Regions from separate parts of the Homo sapiens genome. Here regions 1, 2, 3, 4 and 6 are each linked to region 5. The links are contacts of gene promoters, found by promoter capture Hi-C in blood cells and fetal thymus (Javierre and others, 2016). All regions are on one chromosome and are shown on one strand. Each heading gives the region's core, a stretch centred on a gene start or on the middle of the fragment in contact. The rest is flanking DNA. Distances are from core to core; before and after follow the strand shown.

Region 1 (2,730 bases), core at 69-2,568, 670 kb before region 5:
CAAGTATCTATGAGAGTCCACTCATTATCCAAGACTCAATTCATGTTTCTTTTCCAGAAAGCCCTCCCTGACTATTTTGGCCCAAATAGAGTTCTACATTCTTCACTTCTCCACCTCTAATGCACTTTATATCTAAACCACATGTTAAAGGGCTAAGTGCCCCTCTCTTTTAAAATGATCCCTTCTACTAGTTTATAAACACGTTGAAAGAAAGGGTCTACTCATTTCTTTCCACATCTACTTCTTCTATTTCCCTTACCACCGTTATCTATTGCATCAGTAAATCCTATCAGCAATTCCTTCAAAATTATTTTTTCGTTTAAACTGCCACTTCCCGAGTCCAAGCCACAAGCTTCTCTCACAGAGAAAACTGCAATAGCCTCCAAATTGTCCTTTCTATTTCTGAGGAGACCAGCTTTATGTCAAGTGTTTGTCAAACTCAGGACTAGGTTAATATTATTAAAGCGTTGAAGACACTTGTTCAAGGATGTTTTTCCCCCCAGATATGAATGAAATTTACAGGAGTAAAACAAAAGTTTAATAGGAACTGCGTGGAGCTGACAGGTTGTTCTTACAAACACTATTGCCATCTAATGGCTGGAAAAAAAAATACACCATAGGGACTAAAGAAAAGATAACTGCTCTATTATGAAATTCTAGAAATACATAGAATCTGAAGAAACATTATAGTCAAATATCTTCATAAAAGGAAGAAAAAGGATATAGAGGGAAGGAGAGATGGAGGGAGGACAAAAGGACAGAAGGAAGGAAGGCAGAAAGGAAAGAATCAAGGCAGGAAATCTAGCTAGAGAGAAGGGAAGTAATTAGACCAAAGTTACGCAGCAAGTTAATGAAAGAGCCTGAACTAGGGCTCCTGTGTTCTGATTTCCAGGCTGAAATTGTTACATCACCACACACACACACAAACACACACACGGGGTGGCAGGGGGCAGAGGGTGGGGCGCATCATGGGTAGAAAGAGAAAGAGAGAGGGAGAGATCAGAAATGAGTCTGTAGAAAGCCTCACAGAATATCAATTTGATAGCACTTATAAGTGCATTTTATTGACCTTCCTCCCAATAAAAGTACTGTACCTATAAAATCTCTGTGTTGTCAAGTCCACTCCCTGCCATATAAGAACTTCACTAAAGCTGAGCAACATCCCAACTTCCCTTCTGTTGTTCCAGAAAAGAGCTTCCTCCACCTTCTACTAACTATTCTGCCTGCAGCTGAGTAGGGAATCCAAGTAACCAGAACATGGAGAGCACATTGAAGAAGAAAAAGACAAGTGTTTTTAAAAACTTCCTAGAACCCTTAACATGCCTATTATTTTCTCTTCACCATCCCTCCCTCTTCCCGACCCCATTCCTGGCCCTATACCCAACAAAGCCTCTAGGGCCAGCTGCTAAGGCACTTACCAAGGTTGTCAGGCTGCATGATGGCCATGACAAAGGTATGAGGAAAGAGCATAGCTGCACCCTTCCTCATGCCCTGAAGCTGCACAGTGTTGCCCTGGAACATGACTCCATGCACATCAGTCTCTGTGCCCAGGCCGAGCAGGTGCCAGGCCACTGTGTCACCCTTGCACATGTCCAGCCTGGGCAGGTTAGAGAACAGAAACCCATTAATGGCTGGAAAACAAAAACACAAGACAAGGTGGGGAGATGAGACCAGACTACTCCAGCACTGGCCAGGAGCATGGCATCAGCTATGTACTATGGTTTCACACAACTTGAAACTGCTGAGTCATCCTCAACACCTCTGCCTTCCTCTCTATGCCACTTTAACTCTACTCGTGAATATCTCTGTCTTTGGGATGAGTGCTCAACTGTCCTTTCTGGCCTCACCTCCACCATGATCCACATCCTGACAACATTGAACTATTCTCCACTACCAAACACACACACACACACACACACACACACACACCAATCTCTCCTATTCCCTATTTCTTGAAACTCTCCTTCCTTGGTTTCTGTGGCAACATACTTTCTGGTCCTTTTACAACCACTCTGATTGTTCCTTTTCCATATAGATCTCATTTTCCACGCCCCCATACGTGTTGGGGATCTGAAAATTCCATCTTCAGCTCTCAACCTGTTTCCTCCTCTTCATCTTCACTGCTACTGCCCTGGTTCTGGCCCTCATCCTCCCTGGCCTGAACTAAAATAGCCTCCTCTCTGGTACCCCTACCTGCAGTCTGTCCTCCCATCCTCTTCCATACACACACACACACACACCATTGTCCTGTGAGCTCTATTTTTCTCTGCATTACCAAAGCTTTAAATATTGTAGGTGCTTTGATAATACCTGTTGACTTTTCACATGATTTCCTCTTTCTGGAATAAACTTCCCTTATGGTCTCTTTCTATGGCATCCTACCACTTACCTGTCGTATCTTCGTTCAGCTATACTTTACTCTCTCTTCGATCCATGAAAATTTTATCCCACAAAATTCTGCAGTATCAGTTGCCATGGATTGTAACTGATATACTTTCTGGTGATTTACTTACAAATCTATTTCCTGCACTGGATTGACATAACAGGAAGCATATCATTTTTTTTCTATATCTATGTGACTGCCTGAGCACCTAGCACATTACCTAGTACCAATTAGGCGCTCAGTAAATTCTAACTGGAATGAACTTTGCTCATGAGATGGTTTTACTTTTTCCAAATGATGAAACTAACTAGTAATGGGAATCAAGAGATGGAGCATTTCAAGTGAAG
Region 2 (3,126 bases), core at 136-2,635, 550 kb after region 5:
GTGAAGAATGAGATTACCTATCTCAGCTCCTAACTCCCTAACCTAGGGAGGTCAATTACCATTTCTGTTCTTCAGTTTTTCCATATATCACATGTGAGTGCCTTCTAGCTCTAACATCGTACGGTTCTCTTCCAGTCTTTCCTGTTTCAGTGAATGGCACTGACCTTATTACTGAAGCCAAAAATCCAGGAGTCATTTTAGATGCCTTATCTCGCCCTCCGTACCTCTCCATCCTATCCATGAGCTAATCATATCAGTTCTGTGCCCAATAATATGTTCCCAATCAGCCCATTTTTCTTCATATCTACTATTACTACTGTAATTCAAGCCACCATAATTTCTTTCCTGGACAACTGTAATAGTTTTCCCACTGGTTTTCCTACTTCCACTTTTGCCCCAATAAAATCTGTTCTCACAGCAGTCAGTGATGTTTAAAAACTAGATCATGTTGCTCCCCTGCTTAAAACCCTCAATGTTTGCCTATTGTAATTAGAATAAAACCCAGACTCATCACCATGGTTTACAAGACCCTGTTTTTAGAATAACAGTTCAATGACATAAACTGTCTCCTCAGTCTACTTCTGCTCCCCTTAATCAGCCAGAGCCCTACCTACTTTTTTTTTTCATAGGCTAAGCATTTTCTGACTCAGGACCATTGCACCGGCTATTCGTTCTGCCTGGAGCACTCTTCCTCCAGATCATTGTATGCCCAACTCCTTATGTCTCCACTACAATGTCATCTCTGAACAGGAGCCTTCCCTGACCATCCTAACTAAAACATTCCCCCTCCTGCCATCATTCTGTCCTATTATCCTCAATTAGTGTCTTATGGGCTTATCTCCCCCAAATATTATTATGTTTATTTTTTTTTCTTTTCTGTCATTATTGTCTGGCTCCTCCTACTAGAATGTAAACTTCCTAAGAACTGGGATCTTGGGTAACTAATAGAACATAGTAGGTGAGAGCATGGCTTCTGGAGGCAGACTCTCTAAATTTGAATCTCAGTTCTGCCACTTACTAGCTGTGTTACTCTGGGCAAGTTACTTAACTTCTCTGTGCCTCAACTTCCTCTTCTGTAAAATAAGGATGATAATAATATATACTTCCTGTGAAGTTTTTGCAAGGATTAAACTAACTTAATACATGCAAAGCACTATATATCCCTGGAACCTAGGAGAGTGCCTGGCATGTAGTAAGTGTTCAGTAAATATTTGTTGGCTGTTTGCATGAATTAATCCTCGATACCTCCTGCTGTTTCCCTCCCTTCCTCTCTCATCCTGCCTAGTTTTGTTCAGGAAGCTTTTCCCTGACTCCTTGCCCACTTCTCAGGACTAAATTGGTTCTCCCCTTATGTGTGTGTGTCTTGCTCACAGAACCTAGACTTATTTCAAGCCCTGATTGCTAGGTATAACTATATATGTATGCATGATCTTTGTAATAGCTGGTCTCTCTCACTAAATGGTAAGCTTGGTAAGGGCAGGGCCCATGTCTGTCGTATCTGCTATGAAATCTTCACTGAAACCTCGATGGTTCCTGACATATCATAGGTGCACAATAAACATTTTTGGGCTGAAAACTTTTGGCTCACTTTTCTCTTAGAAATGCTGATTAAGAAATATAATGAGAAATTTAATAAGTAATTTGCACTACTTTTTGAAAGGCAATTTGGAACCAAGACTGTTGTTGCATCTCTGCCTCCTTTTAGTTTAGTTCACTGTTGAAGTACAAAGAAATATCTGTGAATTCAATATTCTGGCCTCCATTTTTAAAGTCTTGATCTATTCCCTGAAAGTATAATCGAGACTGACTGGCTTCCCTTTTGCTAATTTCTTGCATTTTAATGGTATTAACCCCAACATACCCTGCCTTATTGCCTTAGCAATAAGAATAATGTTGGCCCTGATAAAACTAAGATTTTTTTTTATTTCTAACCCCTCAAATCAATCAGTTCTTCTAATAAAATCATGCATTAGAACTCACTGCTAGCCCATATCTTAAATATTGTTTCAGCCATTGCAAACTTCTGATCAATTGAGAGCTACTGAACACTTACTATGGAAAAGCCACCACCTTGGCTTGCAGATACTGTTTTAAGTGCTGCTTCAGAAGAAGGGGCAGAAGGCTATAGTTTCCTTCTCTTCCCCACTGTTTCTCTACAACATTTTCCTTCCTCTCACTGCTAGCCTGGATTCTTAAAATTCAGCAAGGAACAGGTGAGACATCTGTTCTCAAGGAGGTCAAGGAGCCAAAAGCAAACCAGCAGAAGCTAAGAGGCACATTACTCTTTCTGTATTTGGACATTTTAATTGTTACAAATAGCACAAACCTTCTTCCAAGCTCCAGGTTTTCCCATGGCCTCTTCTCTTAGATTAACTGCTATCTCCCTTAAATGTCCATAGTTGGAAGCATGGGACATGCTTGGCCCTCTGCAGACACCCTATATTGGAGTGCACCTTCTGGCTGAAAAGTAACAGAGGCATTCAGGCCCCATGGTAGCAGCAGCAGCTTGATACAGGCCGCATGGGGCCATAGGAAGAGCACAGGCCCTTGAGTCAGGAGTCTTGGTTCTGTTTCAGCCAAGTAGGGTGATGTCAGACAAGTCCTTTGCCTCTCTTGGTCTCAGTTTCCTCATCTGTAAACTAGGATTTCGGTGAGGCTTGAAAGACAAGATAGTTCCCAAATTATTACCAAATCAGACTCTAAACCCATTAACATATTTAATTGAAACAGATACATACCCACATCCAGACTTTTACCAGATGTGTGAACATAGTCAGTGGTAAGGATTCTTAAGGTGAAGGGGACAATGGAAAAAGAGAGAGACATTAAATTTAAAATCTCAAAGGCTGTTCATAAATTGCTTCCCACACATCCCATACAAACCCTCCGCTTCTCCCCAAGCCAGCATTAATGCATTATAAACCACTTTATGTTTGACATAGATACATACACTCGGGACCCCATTGTAGTTTTGGTTGCTATATATATATATTTTTTTTTTCCAGACACACTCTCTTCATTAATCTGCAAGTAACTTGGTCCAAACTGGGCACAGGCTCTAGCTTTATAACTTATTGTGTGGACATGGCAAAACAACTTTCCCTATCTGAGTCAGTTTTCTTCCTT
Region 3 (2,959 bases), core at 335-2,834, 550 kb before region 5:
ACTTTTGTCATAATAGGATGTTTCAGGCTCAATTTGTACTTTGCCTGCCCAGCCCTGGAATCAGGCATTATTCCCAAGAGGTTGGTTTTCCCATTTGCTCTTCAGTTTTATCTGACCCAGTGTATACTTGAAACACCAAGCTTTTAGAATGTCTTAATGTAGATACTCAGAAGCTAAAACATAGGGACAATTCCAACTTGTCACTAATTCTTCTAAACCTCCCATTTAAATGCACTGGGTCTTTTTCTTTTTCCACTTTGATGTTGAGCTCCTAAAATATTTATGTTTAGTGAAAACCTTTCTGACAAAGGATAATTAAATTTGGTTTTGTTTTTTACAACAAAGTTTTTTGGCCATTGCAACACTCAGGTAGCTAATGACAATAAAATGTGTGTCTCATTGCAGGTCATTACCAGTCACATCTGGGGCTTCAGCTTTCAAATGTGCTCATCAATATTTCCATATTCCAGCGGAGGAGATGCTGTAACATTCTGAGATAATATGGTGGAGGATGGGTAAAAAAAAAATTTACCATGCTTGTTGCTATTATTTCTCATACCATTGTTAAATATTCTCAATAGGAATCACATCAAATATGATCTGAGAAAGACCAGATGTATGAACAGGTACATAATCAAGTATCATTTCCTCTAACACTCCTATTTAGATGGAAATATTTAAAAATGATCATGCACTTGTTGAAGACAAAAATGAAAGTCTCCTTGACAGTGTCTTACCTATTTGAAAGATGAATCCAAAAACTTAGTTTCATCTATGAACCCAGAAGATGGAGACGATGGGTAAGCAGTCTTGTCGGCAATGTGTTGGTAATTTAATAGGGGTTACAGCTATGTTAAAATGTGAGGGCATGTCTTATTTTTAACTAAACAAATAATGCTTTCCTTCAATTACAAAAATAAATTTATTGGTACTCTGCCAGTATATTATGCATTTGAGTTTTTTTCTTAGTGGTGGCAATGCTACTGCTCTCTATATTCTTGTTCAGTTCCCTTTATGACCACCAAAACACACTTGCAAAATAACTAGTCTGACCTGTTATTTTGTGGCTAAAGAATAGAACGATGACAACCAGCCCATTAAAAATATATTCAGTAGTATGATGATTGAAGAAATAAGATATTGAAACAAAGCTTACTTAATATAAAATATATGTATAAAATTAACACTTTTGCAATAAACAATGACTAGTTAAAATTCTAGTGAAAATTCCTTTCCCCCAAACAACAAAAGTTTAAATTAGCAAATACTATAAATGTAATAAGAAATATAGAGTAACTATTTGGGGAAAAACGTTGGTCTGCAAATTTGAGATTTTCTATAATTGTTAAAGGAAATAGGAGAATAAACATGTATATCATTTTCAAGTGTATTTTATGGATGGCAGATATTTGGGTATCTTCTGAGGAGAGTTACCTGTTTAGACGTCTATGTCTCAGTGATGCCTATTTGGGTAGAAGGAAGGGCCAAGTGAAGAATCATTAAGTCTGGTCAGGGAGGTGGAAGTTTTAGAAGAGGAAATCTGAGAAGGAAATGGCTGGAGAAGACTTCCAGTGGAAGATCATTTAGGAGGCAGAATATTCTGAAATATATTTTGAGGGTATAAAGAGGAAACCTGAAGAGCTAGAATCTTTTGGGAGAGTTAATGTGTTTGAGGGAATGGTAATTACAGATGTAAGCAGGGATATCCTAAAGCCTGGGTACTATAAAGAGAACTAAGCCATTAAATCAATTGTATCTGGGAGCTGAGGTGTTTAAGAAGCAAGACAATGGGAAGGACATATTATTGGAGAAGGAGGTATGAATGGTAAACTTCTGTTCATGAATTAAATGTTTACAGGTATTGGCTGCTAAAGCCAACAGCATAAACGCCATCTACCTGGGTGTTGGCCCAGAAGAGTGGCATACATGTGTTGTCTTCATCACATCCATCAACTGAACAGAGGTGCAGAATGCTAGCAATAGGCACATCTGAAAAACAGTGCACCAGAAAAGCTTTCCTAAAGACACCAGAAAGAAGTTTGAGGATCTCAGACTTCATGACATCTAGAATGTTGTAATAAGTGTTATTTGTTTTTTAATTTTATTTTTATTGATACATCATAGAGGTATATATTTTTGGAGTACCTGTGGTAATTTAATAAACTCATATAACTTGTAAAGATCAAATCAGTGTAATTGGGATATCCATTATTTTAAATAGTTTTCTTTATGCTAAGAACATTTGAATTATTCTCTTCTATGTATTTTTTATTGTCATTCTTAGACAGAATTTTTTTTTTTTTTTTGAGACAGGGTCTCATTCTGTCACCCAGGCTGAAGTGCAGTGGCATGATCATAGCTCACTCTAGACTCAAACTCCTGGGCTCAAGTGATCCTCCCACCTCTGCTTCTCAAGTAGCTGGGAGTACAGGCGTGACCAACCCACCTCAGCCTCTTCCAGGTATTTTGAGATACACAAGGCCAGGTACAGTGGCTCACAATTGTAAGTACTCCCAGAGCTTTGGGAGGCTGAGGTGAGTGAATAACCTGAGCCCAGGAATTTGAGACCAGCCCAGGAAACATAGGTGAACCCCCAACTCTACAAAACATTTTTTCTTTAATTAGCCAGACACGGAGTACCTGTGGTCCCAGATACTCAGGATGCTGACGTAGGAGGATCGCTTAAACCTGGGAGGTTGAGGATACAGTGAGCCATGATTGTACCATTGCACTCCAGCCTGAGCTACAGAGCAAGACCCTGTATCTGGAAAATATAAAAGAAATACACAATAGATTATTGTAAACTACAGTAATAAATGATAATTAAACAACTACACATTAAATCTTAGAATCTAAATTAACAATTCAACTGTTAGAGAAGCTGTCCAGTTACATGTGTTTGACAGTTTTCTAAAATATAAATTCAAAAAGAATGTGGAAAAATGTGGTTATCTAAATT
Region 4 (2,756 bases), core at 170-2,669, 570 kb before region 5:
TGGCGAAATCTCATCTCTACTAAAAATACAAAAATTAGCTGGGCTTGGTGGCACATGCCTGTAATCTCAGCTACTTGGGAGGCTGAGGCTCAAGAATCACTTAAAATCAGGAAGCAGAGTTTGCAGTGAGCCAAAATAGTGCTACTGCACTCCAGCCTGGGCGACAGAGTGAGATTCTGTCTCAAAAAAAAAAAAAGAAAAAAGAAAAAGAAAAAGAAAAATGTAGGCATATGAGACTAGGAATAGTTATGAAGCCATAACTTTATTTTGATATTTTTCTTAATAAGCAAAATATCTGCTGAACCTGCCTGCCCACCCCCAGAGCTGCTTATAAGTCAATAGTAACACAGTTTTTCACTTATGAGATGTCTGTGTATGTTGATATTTTGCATGAACCTTATATTCAGATGATGTCTATGTATTGGAAGTTAGAGACAAAAAGCAAAACCGGAAGTATTTGGAATATAAATTAGATCAGTGGTTCTCAAAGCATGATTTGTGAACCCATGGGGGTCTCAAGACATTTCATGGGATATGTGAGTTCAGAATTATTTTTATAATAATACCAAGACATCAGTAGCCTTTTATCACTCTTCATTCTCTAATAAGTACAGTAGAATTTTCCAAAGGATACATAATGTCTTATAATGTAATTCTAATGTTAACATATAATGTTCATATTATTATAATTTTTAAAGAAATTTGTATTCAAAATTTTTATTAGTTTTAAATTTTAATATTGTAAATATTGATAGATACAACCCATATAAACACAGTTTTTGGAGTTCCTAAAAAGTTTTAAGAGTGTTAAGGGGCCATAAGACCAAAGAGTGAAGAACCACTGGAATAGACGAAACTTGGTTCACAGTGCACTTTTTTCATAATACAAAAGCATTATGGTCTTTGTTTTAGTTGTTGTGACCTTGTAATAACCTTCTTCATTATGTGAGGTAGAAGAAGAAGGAGAAACGTAACTAAGATGAATCATTATCCATTCCCATTGAAAAAGGAGCCATGTACAGACATCTCTGAGTCTACGTAGCTCTTCATCTTGTTGGTCTCACTGAGAATAATATTTAGACATATGAACTGACCAATATTTAATTTGAGTTTAAAGCTTCCAAATATGAAACAATGATTTTCATATCCGATTAGTAAGTGCAAGTGACCATCAGCATACTAAAGGAGATACCAGATTTTTCTTCTATTTTCTTGTAGAAGAAAACAAAAACTTCAAATGCTTTTTCTAGTATTGCATTGGCTGGTTAGCTTTTGTGCCCATTTGTTTACTGATATTTGGGAAATGGTATATGCCTTCTACAAAATAAAGGAGTGGTCTCTGGCCTAAACAGATTACAGGCAATTATTTCATTATCACAGAATCAAAACAGACATCTAGTTCATTCCAAATGGGATTGCTCTCTCTTTTTAATGCTGATAAAATTTATTATCTGTGCTATTCATTTGTCATTTATTACATACTGCTTTTCAGATATAGTCATCTTTTTATGTCTAAATATCTAACCTTCATTCCCGATATGTTAACTCCATGAGGGATCTTTGACAGATGAGCTTATTCTACAGACACATTTACAGCAGATGAAAACAAGTTAGAATTTTCCATTTCCATTTCCCATTCAAATTTGAGGTACCTATAGTCTATAGTTATTTGCTAGCTAGAACCTAGGCTTACTTACAGTAGTTGAAAAATGTAAAGCTTTCAAGTTAGAGTATTATATGATAATGCGATGTGTTGTTTTATTCTGTTAAAGTTTTATTGTTGTTACTTATCTGTACTTACTAAATGAAAATTTTTGTTCTGCCTATACCATGGGATTCTGAAAAAATAAGACGTTTTAAAAGATTTATTAAATGTAACAATATTGCATCTTATAGGCATACTCAAGCAGTGCAGGTCCAAATCATTAAAGCCTGCTTAGTCACCACCTGTGGAAATAATTACATCATTGTTACAGATATTATTCTGCATTTAACTGTAGAACTCTAGCATGATGCTTCGTTTTATGAAACACGTAGTTCAATATGTTCCTAACCTACTTAGCCTATAAAATGAAACTGTAGCCTACTTTGGATACTTAGGATTGTTTCTGAGAATTAACCACACTGTAGATTATCCCATGAGATAAAGCCTCCTCTCCAACACCACTCATAATCACTTCCAAAAGGGAAGAGCTGGGAAAAGGTCAGAGGTCAAGTCTAAACAGAATGAGGTTTGTTTCTAAATAATGCACTTCCCTGCCTGTAAAAGTCACATCTAATTTCTTTACTATCTTCTGTAATTATATATATTCTCTCACTGTAGGATATTTTCAATTATTTCGGGATAGAAACTATGACATATTAATCCTTGCAGTCCCCTCACAGTTCTTAATGTGTAAAATTTACTCAAAAATATATGCTTAATTAAGTAAACATTTATTGTTGGTCTACTATATGTAAGGTATTGTTCTGGGAATTGGGGGGAAGGATGGGAGAGACTATATTTGTAATCCTCTTTTAAATTAGTAGGAGAGATGAGAAAGTATGTAATAACTATTATGAGGCATTCTTTTCTTAGTGCTATAAAAGAGGTACATTTGTAAAATTTAGTCTATTGTTTTAGGTTAATAATGCCTCTTCTCTTTCATTAGTACCCATAATGGAGAGCCGACGGTATGTGAAATTTCTAACCAATACAAGTGTACTGTTTCCATTTTAGGTGCCAACAATTAAAATTGAGGATATCAGAATCTACC
Region 5 (3,104 bases), core at 206-2,705:
GCAAGAGAATCACTTGAACCCTGGAGGTAGAGGTTGCAGTGAGCCGAGAATTGTGCCACTGCACTCCAGCCTGGGCGACTGGGCCAGACGCCATGTCAAAAAAAAAAAGAAAAAGAAAAAAAGAAAAATAAAATAACTATAGGCAGACTATATCTTAGGAAAAGTTGGCTGGAGAAAGAAGCACATATAGAGGATGAATTGGGATTTGTTGCTGTGAAGCGTAAAAGTGCCACTCACAGCAATGCTGTTAAGATCGTTAGCAACAGTTCTCTCTCTCTCTCTCTCAAGTGTTACATTGGAAAATAACTTCTGCAAGAAGGATTGGGACATAGTCCTAAACATATTTCAGTCAACTCGTAAAATCGGAGGAACTTCATAATACCGCTTTTCTCCCAGAACTCCAAAATACCAAGGAATTTTGCAGAAAAACTAAGTATACCTTGGTGGATGTTGAAACCAACATAGCAGTGGAATGTTGGCAGAGTAAAATTCTACAATTTTCTGCTATGACAGAGAACCTAGAGACCAGTCTACAACTCTCACTGTACAGATGGGAAAACTGAGACTAGTCTAAGTCCACATAGTTAGTGGCAAAATTTAGAGTAAAACTCAGGTCTCTAGGCTGGTATTTATTTATTTATTTATGTATGTATTTATTTAATTTACTTTTGAGACAGAGTCTCGATCTGTCACCCAGGGTGGAGTGCACTGGTGCGATCTTGGCTTGTTGCAGCCTCCGCCTCCCGGATTCAAGCGATTCTTGTGCCTCAGCCTCCTGAGTAACTGGGATTACAGGCATGTGCAACCATGCTTAGCTAATTTTTGTATTTTTACTAGAGACCGGGTTTCACCATTTTGGCCAGGCTGGTCTGGAACTCCTGACCTCAAGTGATCCGCCCGCCTGGGCCTCCCAATGTGCTGGGATTACAGGCGTGAGCCACCACGCCTGGCCAGGCTGGTACTAATTTAAAAGGCAGGGCCCCTGGTTACCTGCCACAAAAGCAGATTTTTTCAACCCAACTGTAACTGTTTCGATATGAGATATTTCCTCTGTAGCCCTGCTTCAGTGTCCAGTGTTTTACTAGGTTAGGTCCTGATTCACGGCAATAAAAATATACTTAAAATCGCATTTTCAGTTCACTGGATGACTACAATCAAGCTGCCACCCGCCGAGGGGAGCAAAATAAAATTCCTCTTGCAGTGAAGACATACCGCTTCCGGTCTGGTACAGAAGCCGGTTAGCAACCAGGAAATTGGCGGAACCTAGAGGCTGAACTCTTGCCCCTGGAGGGTTTGCTTTGTGAAAAGAACACTTCCGGCCGGTGAGTTTTTAACCCCGCATGTCATTAGGTCGGCGCCCAATTCTGACGTTCCGATTGGCCATGCTGACGCTGGAAGGCGGGCTTGCGTATGGGGTCACGCTCTCCTATTGGCTGCTGGTGCGGTGGCGGTTCGGAGTGAGGGTAGCACGCTGAGCTGAAGGCTGTGCGGAGCGGCGCGGCACAGAGCCTGTTGTTGAGCTCAGTATGTCGTGGGAATCCGGGGCCGGGCCAGGTCTAGGTTCCCAGGGGATGGATCTCGTGTGGAGTGCGTGGTACGGAAAGTGCGTTAAAGGGAAAGGGTCGTTGCCACTCTCGGCCCACGGCATCGTGGTCGCCTGGCTCAGCAGGGCCGAGTGGGACCAGGTGACGGTTTATCTGTTCTGTGACGACCATAAGTTGCAGCGGTACGCGCTTAACCGCATCACGGTGTGGAGGAGCAGGTAAGGTGGCGGGTTCGGCCCTTTTGCCTGCGTGCTGGTGGCGCTGCACCTCTTCCTTTGTCGAGTTTCTATAAGGCCCTGTTCTCCAGTCTTCCCCTAAGTCGCCTAAAGTTGTCCCTCTCCCAAATGCCTGGGGGAACGCGGCAGCCATCTCTTGCGCTAATCCCGTTAGCGGAATGGAAAGTAAGGGGTTGTGCCTCAACAATTCTCTTGTTATATCTGTGAGGTTTACCCATTACCTCCAAAAAGTGACTTTCTCCCAACTTGGAGAGGATGCCGGAGGGACTAGTGAGGCCTGAGCCAGGGCTTAAGGAGTAGATTAGTACCCTAGGGTAGATTTCCGATTCCAATGGGGAGGAAGTCTTGCCTGCAAGACAGTGTTTGAGTGGGGCGCCTCAGTCCAGTTGGTAAGATTGAGTTGGGAGCCGACTTACAAGGGATAAGGGGCTCCTCTAGCTCAATGAGTTGATTTGGGGGTGAAAGAAAGGGGTGTGTCCACACAACTGTTGATGGACAGTCTACCAGTTAGGTGTCCTGTATACGGCCTAGTCAGCTCCTCATGCCCTGTATACTGTTGGATCCCACAGACATTACCGTGTCTCCTCCCACCTTCTTGTTTTGTGTCTGTTCATGCTCTCTTGAACCAGAATATGATGGGTGTAGCCTGCAACAACCTAGGTTCTGAGGTGGAGGGTGGACCAGTGTAAGGGCTCTTTATGATGGTGCTGGACTGTGACCCTTTAGGTCAGGCAACGAACTCCCTCTGGCAGTGGCTTCTACTGCTGACCTGATACGCTGTAAGCTCTTGGATGTAACTGGTGGCTTGGGCACTGATGAACTTAGACTGCTCTATGGCATGGCATTGGTCAGGTAAGACCTGCATGGGGTAGGGGTGGAGGTTGGCTTTGGGGACTGGAGGCAGGGGAGGCATGTGATAAGCAAAACTTGGCTTCAGGTGTTACCTGAAGCAAAACCCTGCGTGTACCTCACTGTGGATCAGCCTGTGATTATTGCTTGACTTATCAGCTTTTGGTACCCTCGTCAACGCATTCCTCTTTTTCTTCCTTTTTCCTGAAAGCCTTCTCTTCCATTTTTCTTTCTATCTTGGAATGTGGAGGAAGGGATTCAGACCAGGTGATCTCTGTGGGTCTCTTGGTGGTCTGATATTTTTTCTTACCTTTGAATTCCTCACCCAGAGGAACTTGTCTGAATGGCTCAGGGTCCTCGCCTGTGATTTAATGTGGACTTTCCAACCCTGTCCCTGTCTATTCCTAGCACTACCCTTTTCCCCTTCTCTCCCTCATGAACACTGAAAGATTGCTGAGTTATGGAAGTGGAGACA
Region 6 (2,804 bases), core at 33-2,532, 880 kb before region 5:
AAGTCACACACATGAAAGTAAAATTACAGGTAGAATAAGTGCTGGGAAGTACAGGTGCTATGAATGTGTATTAAAAAGTGAAGCTTTCTTTAGTTAGGAATATCCGGTAAGGCTTCTCTGAGCAAGTCACATAAATTAAAATTTGAAGAAAGAACAGAAGACCACCAGGTAAAGAAAATGTGTTTATAAGGATGGGAAAAAATGTTCCAGATACAGCAGTATGTTCAGAGGCCCTGCAGCAAGATATATTCAAGGTATTGAAATAAGGGCAATAAAACTGGAGCCCAGAAAATGTGGAAAAACAAAGCAAAGGTACAGCTGCAGTGGTAGGCCAGGCCAGTCCATGCAGGGCCTTCAGGTCATAGTAAGGATTTTGAACATCATACTAAAAGTAAAAGAAATAAGCTCTTAAAGTGTTTCTAAGAAAGGATAAGGGTGGGTGATATTATCAGATTCATGTTTTGGGAAGATAACTTATGCTGCAGTGCAAAGAACAAATTCAAAAGCATTAATTCAGATATAATTAATGAGAGGTCATTTTAGAAGTCTAAGTGAGAGAATAGACTTGTGGCAGTAAGATTGGAGATAATATTATTATAAATATTCTAGAAATAATAATAAATTAAAGAGATATTTCAGAGACAGGTGTCACTCACAGGATGATGCAATAGATTGGGTATGTGTGTGAGGGAGAAGGAAATGTCAAGAATGACTTCCAGGTCTCTAGGTAGATGGTAAAGCCATCTACACTGAGAAGAAGACTATAAAAGAATCAGATTTGGGAAGCAAGACCATGTTGAACAATGCTTAGATGGAGGAGGATTTGTTATATCCTAATTGAAAATTCAATTCGACCGTTTGATATAGAGATCTGCTTGTCAGAAAGGAATGAAGTAAAATGGAAGATCTGGGGCTCATTAAGGACTCAAGGGCACCTGGCCTCTATCCGATAGAAGAAACACATGACTTCTGTAGTGCTCCAAGGTGTCAGATAAAGGAGCACTTTCCAATAGCCTGAGCTCTCCTGAGATGGAATTGGATGCCTTGGTAAATAATGCATGAGGTTTTATCACAGATACTAGACGGTTTTCCACCAGAGATGCTATACAAAACCTTCAATTATCAAATGATGGGTCTGTCACGAGATGCCTTCTAAGCTGTCACTATGTCCAAAAGTCAGGTCAATGCAACAAAATTCCACCATAAAATATTCAAAGAAGTAAACCATCAGTGTCTGTCTTTTGGGAAGAAAACTTGTCATAAATGCAAGGATCTGAGGAGGCCCAGTTCTCTTAAATCTACACCTTATCCTGGGTGGTAAAATACCTGAAGTGCAAATCTGACTTACTACTCTCTTCATCTGGTAGACATTTGATGTATGAAAATGCTCTAAAACTTTGAAGTCTTTGCCTGAGTTGTTCTTTGAGTTGTTCTTCTGTGAATCCCAGAATCAACCAATAAAGTTTGGAATCCTAAATCCTAAATAATAGCTTTTTTTTTTGAAACACTTGAAAGTTCTGGAAAGGGAACAGATACTGAGCACTCACTATGCTCTGGGTACTTTAAATCTCAGTGCAGCCAGGGAAGAAACTAGTATTATCCTCATTTCACAGGTGAATAAACTAAAGTGTCTAGAAGTCAAACAACTTGTCCAAGACCATTTAACTAGAAAGTAGCAGAGCTGGGATTTTTACCCCAGATATTCCTGACCCCAACTCCAGTGGACTATCTCTGAGGTCCAGGCCATTCACTCCTGCTTCATAAGCAAAATATCCAGTGTCATTTACCCTCAGGACATTCTTATTCACTATTTTTTATTTTGAAAGGATTTTAGACTCATAAAAGTTACAAATTGTTACAGAGAGTTCCCATTTATCCTTTGTTTAATTTTCCCTGATGATAGCAACTTGCATAGTCATAGTATATTATCAAAGCCAGGAAACTGATATTGGCTTAATACTATTAACTAAACTACACATCTTAATGAAATTTCATCAGTTTTTACATGCAATTTCTGTGTGTATTTGTGTGTAGTCTTATGAAATTTTTATCATGTTTATAGATTTAGGTAACCACCACAACAATCAGAATATCAAACTCTTTCATTATGACAAAGAAATTCCCTGTGCTACTTCTTTATAATCACAGCCTCTTAGAACTCTAACCAATGGTAACTACTGATTTGTTCATAACTACAATTTTGTTATTCTGAGGATGTCTTATAAATGGAATCATACAGTAAGCAATTTTTGGAGATTGACTTTTTCACTTAGTATAATTGTCTTTGAGCCCCATTCAAGTTGTGTGTATTTATAGTTCATTCCTTTTTATTGCTGAGTAATATTGGTATAATACAGTTTAACCATTCACCTGTTTATGGAGAATAGATTGGGGAAGAGACAGATAGAAGAGATACTGCCTATTTTAAACTTCTAATTGTGTATGGAGGACTAGAAGAGGTGATAGGACTTACTAAGCTTCAGCCAACTATAGCAGAGCTGAGACAACAACAGTAACTGCTAGTCCTTATATAGTACCTATCTGTTGCCAGCCACTATTTTAAGTACTTTATATGTATCAATCTAGGAGGTAATAAAAACAATTATCTCCATATTACAGATGAGGAAACTGAAGCATATAGAAGTTAAGTAACTTGTCTGGCATTATGCTAAGTGAAATAAGCCAGGCACATAATACAAATACTGCATAATCTCACTTATATGTGGAATCTAAAAAAGTCGAACTTACAGAAACAGAGTTAAATGGTTGTTGCTGGGCTTGGCTAGGGGCTGGAGTATGGGGAT

Evidence for each region. Contacts are between HindIII fragments. The CHiCAGO score rates a contact against its expected background, and 5 or more counts as called.
Region 1: a fragment that was not itself captured here is called in contact with the fragment with the promoter of LAS1L in region 5 in 1 of 17 cell types (monocytes); the score reaches 5.7 in monocytes.
Region 2: a contact is called between a fragment that was not itself captured here and the fragment with the promoter of LAS1L in region 5, in 1 of 17 cell types (fetal thymus). The highest score is 5.1, in fetal thymus.
Region 3: a fragment that was not itself captured here is called in contact with the fragment with the promoter of LAS1L in region 5 in 2 of 17 cell types (activated CD4 T cells and non-activated CD4 T cells); the score reaches 5.6 in activated CD4 T cells.
Region 4: a fragment that was not itself captured here is called in contact with the fragment with the promoter of LAS1L in region 5 in 4 of 17 cell types (monocytes, activated CD4 T cells, non-activated CD4 T cells and 1 more); the score reaches 5.9 in monocytes.
Region 6: a fragment that was not itself captured here is called in contact with the fragment with the promoter of LAS1L in region 5 in 1 of 17 cell types (non-activated CD4 T cells); the score reaches 5.4 in non-activated CD4 T cells.

What each region holds. Positions count from the first base shown.
Region 1 is chrX:66,199,441-66,202,170 of GRCh38, reverse strand. HEPH (hephaestin) reads right to left here. Exons shown (of 21, transcript NM_001367233.3): 12 at 1,419-1,631. Among named protein-coding and RNA genes, the nearest start is that of HEPH, 37 kb to the right of the region's middle. The HindIII fragment of the contact is 1,928 bases long and covers 355-2,282 here.
Region 2 is chrX:64,978,612-64,981,737 of GRCh38, reverse strand. It overlaps a transcript of ZC4H2 not described here. Among named protein-coding and RNA genes, the nearest start is that of ZC4H2, 3.7 kb to the right of the region's middle. The HindIII fragment of the contact is 167 bases long and covers 1,302-1,468 here.
Region 3 is chrX:66,080,880-66,083,838 of GRCh38, reverse strand. No RefSeq gene overlaps it. Among named protein-coding and RNA genes, the nearest start is that of VSIG4, 42 kb to the right of the region's middle. The HindIII fragment of the contact is 862 bases long and covers 1,154-2,015 here.
Region 4 is chrX:66,098,709-66,101,464 of GRCh38, reverse strand. No RefSeq gene overlaps it. Among named protein-coding and RNA genes, the nearest start is that of VSIG4, 60 kb to the right of the region's middle. The HindIII fragment of the contact is 600 bases long and covers 1,120-1,719 here.
Region 5 is chrX:65,533,138-65,536,241 of GRCh38, reverse strand. LAS1L (LAS1 like ribosome biogenesis factor) reads left to right here and starts at 1,455. Exons shown (of 14, transcript NM_031206.7): 1 at 1,455-1,762; 2 at 2,507-2,632. The coding sequence starts at 1,527. RefSeq lists an enhancer at 1,181-1,360. The HindIII fragment of the contact is 19,270 bases long and covers 1-3,104 here.
Region 6 is chrX:66,414,622-66,417,425 of GRCh38, reverse strand. No RefSeq gene overlaps it. Among named protein-coding and RNA genes, the nearest start is that of EDA2R, 220 kb to the left of the region's middle. The HindIII fragment of the contact is 2,394 bases long and covers 86-2,479 here.